Linked DNA regions of Homo sapiens: region 2 is linked to region 1. The links are contacts of gene promoters, found by promoter capture Hi-C in human tissues and cell types (Jung and others, 2019). All regions are on one chromosome and are shown on one strand. Each heading gives the region's core, a stretch centred on a gene start or on the middle of the fragment in contact. The rest is flanking DNA. Distances are from core to core; before and after follow the strand shown. Region 1 holds the start of TP53I3 (tumor protein p53 inducible protein 3). Region 2 has its middle 15 kb from the start of NCOA1.

The links. Contacts are between HindIII fragments. The study calls those that stand out against the background at their distance.
Region 2: a fragment that was not itself captured here is called in contact with the fragment with the promoter of TP53I3 in region 1 in 1 of the 25 tissues and cell types used here (neural progenitor cells).

Annotation. Positions count from the first base shown.
Region 1 is chr2:24,081,611-24,086,664 of GRCh38, reverse strand. TP53I3 (tumor protein p53 inducible protein 3) reads left to right here and starts at 1,831. Exons shown (of 5, transcript NM_004881.5): 1 at 1,831-2,476; 2 at 3,513-3,780. The coding sequence starts at 2,339. It also overlaps a transcript of FAM228B not described here. RefSeq lists enhancers at 1,046-1,546, 2,294-2,343, 2,494-2,593, 3,189-4,119 and a silencer at 2,104-2,283. The HindIII fragment of the contact is 16,390 bases long and covers 1-5,054 here.
Region 2 is chr2:24,473,136-24,478,912 of GRCh38, reverse strand. No RefSeq gene overlaps it. Among named protein-coding and RNA genes, the nearest start is that of NCOA1, 15 kb to the left of the region's middle. The HindIII fragment of the contact is 7,742 bases long and covers 1-5,777 here.

The sequences.
Region 1 (5,054 bases), core at 582-3,081:
GCTGGGCACAGTGGCTCATACTTGTAATCCTAGCACTTTGGGAGGCTGAGGCAGGAGGATTGCTTGAGTCCAGGAGTTTGAGACCAGCCTGGGCAACATAATGAGACCCCTACACTACAAAAAAGAGAGAGAGAGAAAGAGGGGGTGGGGAAGGAGGGAAGGAAGGAAGGAGGGAGGGAGGGAGAGAAGGAAGCCATTTTTTTTAACCAATTGTGAGTAACTTATTCTTTCCACACTTGTTAGAACCTGAAATTTTATAAAATATAGGCATGCATTTTTGTTCTTATGAATCCATCCTTTAGTGAATGTTTTCAATCCGTATAATCTGGTAGAATTTAGGAAAACTGTATTCTTTTATTTGGTTAACTATTGAATCTTCTTCATCCATTCCTCTTCCTCCTTCTAAAATTCCTTTTTTTTTTTTTTTTTTGAGACGGAGTCTCACTCTGTCGTCCAGGCTGGAGTGCAGTGGTGCGATCTCGGCTCACTGCAAGCTCCCCCTCCCGGGTTCACGCCATTCTCCTGCCTCAGCCTCCCGAATAGCTGGGACTACAGGCGCCCGCCACCACGCCCGGCTAATTTTTTGTATTTTTAGTAGAGACGGGGTTTCACCGTGTTAGCCAGGATGGTCTCGATCTCCTGACCTCGTGATCCGCCCGCCTTGGCCTCCCAAAGTTCTGGGATTACAGGCGTGAGCCACCGCGCCCGGCCTAAAATTCCTGTTATTCTCATAGCAGGGTCTCCTGAATTTTTCCTTAAGTCCCATCATTTTATTATTTCCATCTCTATAGGCTTTTGCTCTGTTGTGTTAAAGAAATAATTATTCAATGATACTTGTTAAAGCACATTAAGGAAGACTTTATTTAGCACCATCGCTACAGGTTTAGGGACCACTGCAATGAGTTCTTGCAGTGGAGGAGACAGGTTGGGATCAACTCTGAATGCATCACGGACAAGTGGGAATGTATAGCCAAGGAGCAGTGTAGGGGGTCAGTGGATGGAAAATTGGTAAGAGGCATCAGGGGTAAGGGGGATTCTATCTAAACTGACCTAACAGGATTCTCACTGAAGACAGGCCAGGGTGGTCGGATATCACTTGGGGGATGGTGGAGGATGAGATATTGAGGGTGATCAGATGTCAAGGATGGGAGGTTCTTACTAAAACAGGAATTTACAAGGAGTGCTACGGATATGTAGTGGGGGGAGGCCAGGGATGCTGCTAAACATCCTACGATGCACAGGACGATCTCCTACAATAACGAACTAGCTAGTCCAAAATGTCAATAGCGCCGAGATTGAGAAACCTTCATGTAGCTTACGGATACAGCTTTTACCCAATCGCCAGCATCCTTCTCCTGGGGCTGAACCTCTCCCCCAGGACTGTCAGGAGGAGGCGAGTGATAAGGATCCCAGGACTGCGTTTTGCCTTCCTTCCCCACCCCCACTCCCAACGGCTCCTTTCTCTTCTCTTAGCAGCACCCAGCTTGCCCACCCATGCTCAAGATGGGCGGGATGCCAGCCTGTTACATAAATGTGCCAAAAGCCTGGCCATGCCTGGAAAATGGACCAATCCGCCCGCCAAGAGGTTGGGTCTCGTTCCCTAGAGAGAAGGAAGTTTCCTCTCCTTGAAGTGAGAGCTAGAATCGCACTTTCTGTCAAGCTGAGAGAAAGACTCTTTTCCAGAGGCTAAAAGGACAAGAAAATCTGATTTGCTTGCTTCTAACTTTGCGTTTTAAAGGGGGAAGGAGGAAAGGAAAGAGGGGGAGGGTGGTTCTGCTTAGCCCCACCCCTCCGGCTACCCCAGGTCCAGCCGTCCATTCCGGTGGAGGCAGAGGCAGTCCTGGGGCTCTGGGGCTCGGGCTTTGTCACCGGGACCCGCAGGAGCCAGAACCACTCGGCGCCGCCTGGTGCATGGGAGGGGAGCCGGGCCAGGAGTAAGTAACTCATACGGGCGCCGGGGACCCGGGTCGGGCTGGGGGCTTCCAACTCAGAGGGAGTGTGATTTGCCTGATCCTCTTCGGCGTTGTCCTGCTCTGCCGCATCCAGCCCTGTACCGCCATCCCACTTCCCGCCGTTCCCATCTGTGTTCCGGGTGGGATCGGTCTGGAGGCGGCCGAGGACTTCCCAGGCAGGAGCTCGGGGCGGAGGCCGGGTCCGCGGCAGACCAGGGCAGCGAGGCGCTGGCCGGCAGGGGGCGCTGCGGTGCCAGCCTGAGGCTGGGCTGCTCCGCGAGGATACAGCGGCCCCTGCCCTGTCCTGTCCTGCCCTGCCCTGTCCTGTCCTGCCCTGCCCTGCCCTGTCCTGTCCTGCCCTGCCCTGCCCTGTGTCCTCAGACAATATGTTAGCCGTGCACTTTGACAAGCCGGGAGGACCGGAAAACCTCTACGTGAAGGAGGTGGCCAAGCCGAGCCCGGGGGAGGGTGAAGTCCTCCTGAAGGTGGCGGCCAGCGCCCTGAACCGGGCGGACTTAATGCAGGTACCCAGGGCTCAGCCGCGCCGGGGCGGGCGGGACTCCAGAGCCTCCCTCTCAACAGCACTCAGTGGACATTGACCAGACGTGAAGGCGTGCACCGCTCCACACCCAGCAGGCAGCTGCGCTGGGGCTTCCCAGACCTAAACCCAGGGCGCCCTCTTTGTTCATGCAAAACAAGGGGGAGTACTTGTAAAGCAGAATCCACCCCGAGCTAATCCATAGCCACTCAGGCCTCCAGATGAGGGCGGAACTAACATTGTTGTGGGGTGTGGGCACACTTACTCCCCAGGCTACCCTGTTCGCCATCTTAATTCTACAGATAAGGAAACTGAAGTTCAGTGAGGTTAAGCAGTACGCCCAAGGCCGTGACACTAGCAATCAGAAGAGCTGGGATTCAAGCTGAGGTCTTTGTGGCTCCAAAGACCTCTTAACTCTTTCCACTCTGAGAGTCCCGGAGCTGACAGCGGGCAGTACTCTTAAGAATTTTCTTCTGTCTGATGCTGATTTACTGACCTGGGCCAGCTGCATTGGTTGGGGTCATTCAGAAATGTGCATCAGAATCCCCCGGGGCACAAAAGAAACGTGATGGGGGCCCAGGCACGTGTACTTTGAAATACTCCTCAGGTGGTTCTGCCACACACTCCTGGTTAAGTCCCTCTGCTCTACAGCTTCTGAGGACTGGGGTGAGTGAGCACAGAGCCTAGCGCTTGATGCATGGGAACCATCGTCAAGGTTCCTAATCCCACTACTATTATTTCCCGTCTGGGACTCAGTTTCTCCATCTGTAAAGCAAGGGGTTCAGATGAGGTAAATAGCTAAGGACTCTACCAGTTATAACATCCACTGATCATGTGACCTCCAGTTTATTTGCATAAAACTAATGGCCTCTCCTTTTTCTTCTCCTTACTTACAAAAACCTGACTTCATTCTGAAATTTATTTTTGAAAAAAAAAAGAGGGGATCTTGGAAGGGGGGCCAGGGGTAGTGACATACAGATTTCTGATCATGCTCACCACTTAGTGCACTTCTTTCTCTGCAGAGACAAGGCCAGTATGACCCACCTCCAGGAGCCAGCAACATTTTGGGACTTGAGGCATCTGGACATGTGGCAGAGCTGGGGCCTGGCTGCCAGGGACACTGGAAGATCGGGGACACAGCCATGGCTCTGCTCCCCGGTGGGGGCCAGGCTCAGTACGTCACTGTCCCCGAAGGGCTCCTCATGCCTATCCCAGAGGGATTGACCCTGACCCAGGCTGCAGCCATCCCAGAGGCCTGGCTCACCGCCTTCCAGCTGTTACATCTTGTGGGTGAGGAGGCCTCCATGCTCACTCCACACAATGTGGCTCAACACCTTCATAAATCAGCCAACTTGAATCCCAGCAATCCCCCAGGGCACTCCCAGGCCTTCCTGTATCACCTGTATTGTCAGGTCCTCAAACCATGTTAGAAGGGTTTAATGTTGAGGCTGAGAATCATGGTTAGCAGATAGAGGGTCTGGATAACACTAGATAGGAGGCCTATGTACATGTTAACACCGGACGCCCAGCAGAAGTCCCAGCTTCTTAGAATCATACTGAGCTTCTCTCTGGGGTCCCAGTGCAACAGAAGGGACCAATTGACTCATTTATTCCTCCTCAATCCCACAGAGGCCAGTCAAGAACTCACATAAGGGAATCTAAGAAGACTTGGTCCTTGCCTTTAGACAGTGCAGTGTAACTGAGAAGGCAACATATGCATAAGATCAGATGACCATAGAGTTTAGAAGGATAGCCCTGTCTATGATAGAAGCTGGAGATGAGTAAAGATGGTGTGGACAAGGGTAGTCAGAAGGCTTTTTGGAAGGCTTTGAAGGGTGGGTAGACTTGTGAAGGACATAAGGCATGCCAAGGTGGCCTAAGAAAGAGTATCAGCCAGGCAAGGTGGCTCACACCTATAATCGTAGCACTTTGGAAGACAGATCACGAGCCCAGGAGTTCAAGATCAGCCTGGGCAACATGGCGAAACCCTGTTTCTACAAAAAATACAAAAATTAACCAGGCATGATGGTGCATGCCTGTTGTCTCAGTTACTCAGGAGGCTGAGTTGGGAGGATCACCTGAGCCCAGGAAGGTCAAGGCTGCAGTGAGCCATGATCATGCCACTGCACTCCAGCCTGGGCAGTAGAGTGAGACTCTGTCTCAAAGAAAAAGAAAGAGTAGGCTGGGCGTGGTGGCTCACGCCTGTAATCCCAGCACTTTGGGCGGCTGAGGTGGGTGGATCATGAGGTCAGGAGATCGAGACCATCCTGGCTAACACGGTGAAACTTCATCTCTACTAAAAATACAAAAAATTAGCTGGGCGTGGTGGTGGGCACCTGTAGTCCCAGCTACTCAGGAAGCTGAGGCAAGAGAATGGCATGAACGCAGGGGGGGTGGGGCAGAGCTTGCAGTGAGCCAAGATTGCGCCACTGCACTCCAGCCTGGGTGACAGAGTGAGACTCCGTCTCAAAAAAAAAAAAAAAACAGTATCAAGGTGAGACCAGCCACTGCACTCAGTAGTGAAGGATGACTATTGTGATTTGTGAAAAATGAGGCTGGAGCCA
Region 2 (5,777 bases), core at 2,317-4,816, 390 kb before region 1:
CATAAAGTTATTCATCATCCTGAGTTTTCAATGCCAAATGAAATTTATCATGTAAATCTTGATGTGAATAGCAGAGTAGCTGGTGCCCTTGATAGAAATTTAACAAAACAAATAGAGACATTATACATATATATAACGGAGATATTAAAAATTTTTAACAACGGGTATGACTTAGAAGCTGACCAACAGACCAACCCTAAGCCACCAGTGTGGCTGCACCTGTCCATACTAACTATCAGCACTGCACGTGGCTATTGCTTATATTGATGCTCAGACACCAACAGTGCTGTTTTTAAAAGGCTCTTTGCTGAGTGGAAGAGAGAGTGTGCAAAGCAATGTCGCATGCTACAGAAGCAACCTCTTCCCCACAAATTCTTAGCCTGATGCTTCTCTGTCCAGTAGAGCAAGGCCTTACTCACTGTTCCTTCAACTTTGTCCTCCAAACTTCAGCAATCCCTCATACTGGCCACTTGCCTTGATATCTGTCATCCTTGACTAATCTAGTTCGTGAACTGGCAGCACCTGTATGAGACCTGCCCTTCCTTAATCCGTATGCCAATTACCTTCACTAGCCTGCAACTGTCCCCAATATCTGCAACCCACTCTCATCATGTATCTAACAGGCCAGGTTCCTGACAAGACTTAATCACAGAAAATATTCAAAGAAAATTTTATGACATTAAGGACTGATGGTAGAAAACTTATCTTCAAGAAGTTGCAGACTGATAATTATACTAGGAGATAAGATTATAATCCCTTGAGCACTGAGGGATCTGTGAGAGGATTTGTGGGGTGCTTCAAGAGCAGGTCTTAAAAGATGGTTAGGATTCAGAAAAGAAGGGAAGAAGTAGGGGGCACTCCTAGAAGAGAGAACAATGTAAACAACAGCAGAGGGTTGGAAATGCTTTATTTTCTATTAGCGAGAGAGTACATACTTGTCCCAGGTAGAGAGGTATGTTCGTGTAAAGAAAGTGCACTGCATTTTGGAGGGCTTTGTTGTTTGTTTGTTTTTTTTGTTTTGAGATGGAATTTCGCTCTTGCTGCCCAGGCTGGAGTGTAATGGTGCGATCTTGGCTCACTGCAACCTCCCCTTCCTGGGTTCAAGCAAGTCTCCTGTCTCAGCCTTCCAGGTAGCTGGGATTACAGGCGCATGCCACCATGTCCAGCTAATTTTTGTATTTTTAGTAGAGACGGGGTTTCATCATATTGGTCAGGCTGGTCTCGAACTCCTGACCTCAGGTGATACTCCCACCTTGGCCTCCCAAAGTGCTGGGATTATAGGTGTGAGCCACTGCACCCGGCATTTGGAGGGTTCTCAAGACACGGTCCGTGTTGTAACTCCTTCTGTGCTATTCCAGGCTGGATCTGGGAGCTGAGGCAGGAAAAGAAGTAACAAAAGATTGACACATGGGATTGCAAAGTGTAGGGTGGAGGGAGATCAAGAGACAGCGAACTGGGGCGTGGCTAGAAGCAAGATAAACTAATCAGAGAGGCAGAACTAGTTATGAGGTAACCAGGCTGACTTAGAGGCTGGGGCAGAGCAGGCTTCGAAAGAGAAGTGGGAAGCAGCACCTGCAGCAACTCCCTAAGGCCCCAGAATGCAGTACAAGAGCTTTCTAAAAGCCTTGTCTGGGTACAGGGAGGGTGCCATTAAGAGAATGAAAGCATTTTGGACAATATATAGATGGCACGGGGTCATCACTGTGAAGATTGTAGACCAGAAGCCAACAGAATGGTAATTTAGAAAAATGAGTTAAGTAGCACTGTAGGAGCAGAGTTAGAAAGGATAACATATCCAGACATGATTTTTTTTTTTTTTTTGAGATGGAGTCTCGCTCTTGTTGCCCAGGCTGGAGTGCAATGGCTTGATCTCGGCTCACTGCAACCTCCGCCTCCTGGGTTCAAGCAATTCTCCTGCCTCAGCCTCCCGAGTAGCTGGGATTACAGGCCTGTGCCACCACGCCCGGCTAATTTTTTGTATTTTTAGTAGAAACAGGGTTTCACTATGTTAGCCAGGCTGGTCTCAAACTCCTGACCTCAGATGACCTGCCTGCCTCGGCCTCCCAAAGTGCTGGGATTACAGGCGTGAGCCACCTTGACTGGCCCAAGCCTTTTTTTTTTTTTTTTTTTTTTTGTGACAGAGTCTCAGTCTGTCGCCCAGGCTGGAGTGCAGTGGCGCCATCTTGGCTCACTGCAACCTTTGCCTCCTGGGTTCAAGTGGTTCTCCTGCCTCAGCCTCCTGAGTAGCTGGGACTACAGGTGCGTCCCAAGACTGGCAAATTTTGTGCCCGTGTTAGCCAGGGTGGTCTTGATCTCCTGAACTCGTGATCCACCCGCCACGGCTTCCCAAAGTGCTGGGATTACAGGCGTGAGCCACCGTGCCCAGCTGACATGATTTTTAAAGTTATAAAAATCAATTTGAAAACACCAAGTTTGGCTTTTCTTTGCTCACCATAATACCTAACAGGCAGTTCTTGGTTAATATTAGTTAATGTTAAATGTGAAATGAATGGCCTCTGCAAAGTGATTGCTTTTGTTCTAACACTAAGAATATCTCCTAGAATAAAGTAATCCATAAATATTGTGGTTTATACATCAAATTTCTATGAGTTTGACCAATATGAGTCTCTTCTTTGCAACCTAATAATTCTTGGATGAACGAATAGCACTGGGTTTCCAAACTTTCCAGGTTGACGGTCTGATGCTGGATTAATTATTTGCTGGAACGCAATATGAATAGATCCTTGCTATGATGCAAAAATTAATCTATTGAAAGGATATAGGACAGGTCAGAGAATAAAAAGATTTGTTGGATAATTTGGCCTCAAGAGGCCAGACCCAAAGAAGCTTCAAGGATCGTAGCAGCAGGGACTTGTAACTGTCTTTCTATGGCACTGCTGTCAGATAATGTAGCTTCATCACCTTCTGTGTCAGTGTTTCAGCTGGTTTCAGCAACCAGCTCGAAACTTAAATTCCTGGGGGAAAAAAGTGTTATTGGCCAAACAAAGATCAAACATCAACCTCTATGTTGGGAGTAGACAGCAGGGTTTTGTGACTGACAAACCTGTCAAAACCACGTATTGGATGTCCAGCAGCAGCCTCCAAGGAAGGAATTCTAGGAAGACAAAAAATAATTGATATGCATTCTGGGCATTTCCATTTAGATATTTACCCTCAAAGGAGGATGAACAGGTGATTAGATAAGATGCTGCATAAGGGCCTTTCCACCTCTGAGAAGTCTACACATTAGAATTGATATTTATCATTCCAGAGACCAAATCCTACAGATAAAGATGAATTCGTGGACTTGGAGCTTATCTACACGGGTCTTATTTCCTAGAAGTTTTCAATATTTTTTCAATATGTCTGCATGATCTGGTGATTTAAATTTTTCTGATTACAGCATAAAATAGTATAGAATTTAGAATACATATAGAAAAATACACAGATCATAAGTGCCGAGCTCAAAGAATTGTCACAAAGTGAATAATATGTGTAATCAGAACCCAGATTGAGAAATAAAATCTGACCAGCAACCCAGAACATCCCCTGATGCCCCCACTTCCCCCAACAAAGGTAACTGCTAAACTAACTTCTATCTCCATCAGTAAGTTTTGCCTTGTTTGGGGCTTTATATAAGTTGAATTGTATATTTTGTGCTCTTTTGTGCCTGGTTTCTTTCATTCAACATTACGTTTTATGAGATTCACCCATGATGCTACAAGTAATTTGTTTTTTCTCTTTGCTGTGTGGTATTTTGTTTTATGAGTACGGTGCTGCTTATCCATTCCACTGTTAATGAACATTCTTTCCTGTTTTTGACTATTACTAATAGTGCTGCTATGAACATTCTCATACATGTTTTTTTGTGAATATATCCGCTCATTTCTGCTGGATATATATCAAGCCTGGGTATATATCAAGGAGTGGAACTGCTAGTTCAAAGAGTATGTGTTATATAGGTTCAGCATTCATAGGTAGTACTAACAGTTATTCAAAGTGGTTGTACAGGTTTGTGTTTTTATTTATTTATTTTTATTTTATTATTATTATTATTTTTGAGACAGAGTCACGCTCTGTCGCCCAGGCTAGAGTGCAGTGGCACGATCTCGGCTCACTGCAACCTCTGTCTCCTGGGTTCAAGCGATTCTCCTGCCTCAACCGCCTGAGTAGGTGGGACTACAGGTGCGAGCTACCACACTCAGCTAATTTTTCTTTTTCCTTTTTTTTTTTTTTTTTTTTGTATTTTTAGTAGAGACAGGGTTTCGCCATGTTGGCCAGGCTGGTCTTGAACTCCTGACCTCAACTGATCCACCCGCCTCAGCCTCCCAAAGTGCTGGAGTGCAGTGGCACGATCTCGGCCTCCTGGGTTCAAGCGATTCTCCTGCCTCAGCCTCCTGAGTAGCTGAGACTACAAGCATCTGCCACCACGCCCAGCTAATTTTTGTATTTTTAGTAGAGACGGGGTTTCACCATATTGGCCAGGCTGGTCTTGAACTCATGACCTTGTGATCTGCCCACCTCAGCCTCCTAAAGTGCTGGGATTACCAGGCATGAGCCACCGAGCCCGGCCCAGATTTATGTTTTTAATAGCAGTGCGTACAAATTCCAGTTGTTCCACATCCTTGACAATTCTTTATTTTAACCAGTCTGGTAGGTGTGCAATATCTTATTGTGATGTTAATTTAGATTCCTCAGATGACTCATGAAGTGGAGTATCTTTTCATATGTTTAAGGGCCATTTGAAATGCTCTTTTTTGAGGTGCCCGTCAAAATCTTTTGCCCACCTTCTGATTGTATTGTCTCTTTTTCTTATTGATCTGTAGGGGTTCTTTATATATTCTGGACAAAAATCCTTCTTGGGATATATATATTACATATGTCTTCTCTCATTATGTGGTTTTCCTTTTTACTCTCTTAATCTTATCATTTGATGATCTTAAGTTCTTAAAATTAATGTTTTTTAGTTTTGTTGGCTTTTCTTTTCTTCTTCTTCTTTTTTTTTTTTTTTTTTGGCATGGCCTTTCTCTGTTGCCCAGGCTGGAGTACAGTGACATAATACAGTGACATAATCATAGCTCCCTGCAGCCTTGAACATCTTGGCTCAAGCTATCCTCCTGCTTCAGCCTTCCAAGTAGCTGGGACTATAGTCATGCACCACCACATCCAGCTAATTTTAGAATTTTTTTGTAGAGATGGGGATCTCACTACTCACTATGTTGCCCAGGCTGGGCTCAAACAATCCTCCCACCTAAGCCTCCCAATGTTCTGTGATTACAGGTGTGAGCCACCACACCCTGCCTGGCTTTTCCTTTAGGCTTAGTGCTCTTAGTGTACTGCTTGAAAAATTTTAGACAGAGCAATTATAGTAGTTGGAAAAATAGTATAGGTCCATACAAAACTAAAAATAAATTAAGAACAAAAAACATGGCATTCATTAACTTCAAGAAAAAAATCAAACTAGAAACAAGACATAATCACAATATACTACTTGGTTCAACAGTGACAATTATTTACACAATTATAATACAATCCTTGACTACTGATTTATCCAAAAATTATGATAACTTTTTGAGGTCTCTGTGGGGGCCCAATAAGTAACAACCATCTTCCCAACCTGAGTTCTGAACAAATGGAAAAATAATGCAAAAGAGTGGCAGAGAGAGGTTAAATGTCACCTTTATTATAATCGATTAGAGGCCAAGTTGCAGAGTGTGGCATCAAGTGTTTTTGCAAAGTGGGATGGTTAAGACAAAACCAGACATAGATGGAATTAC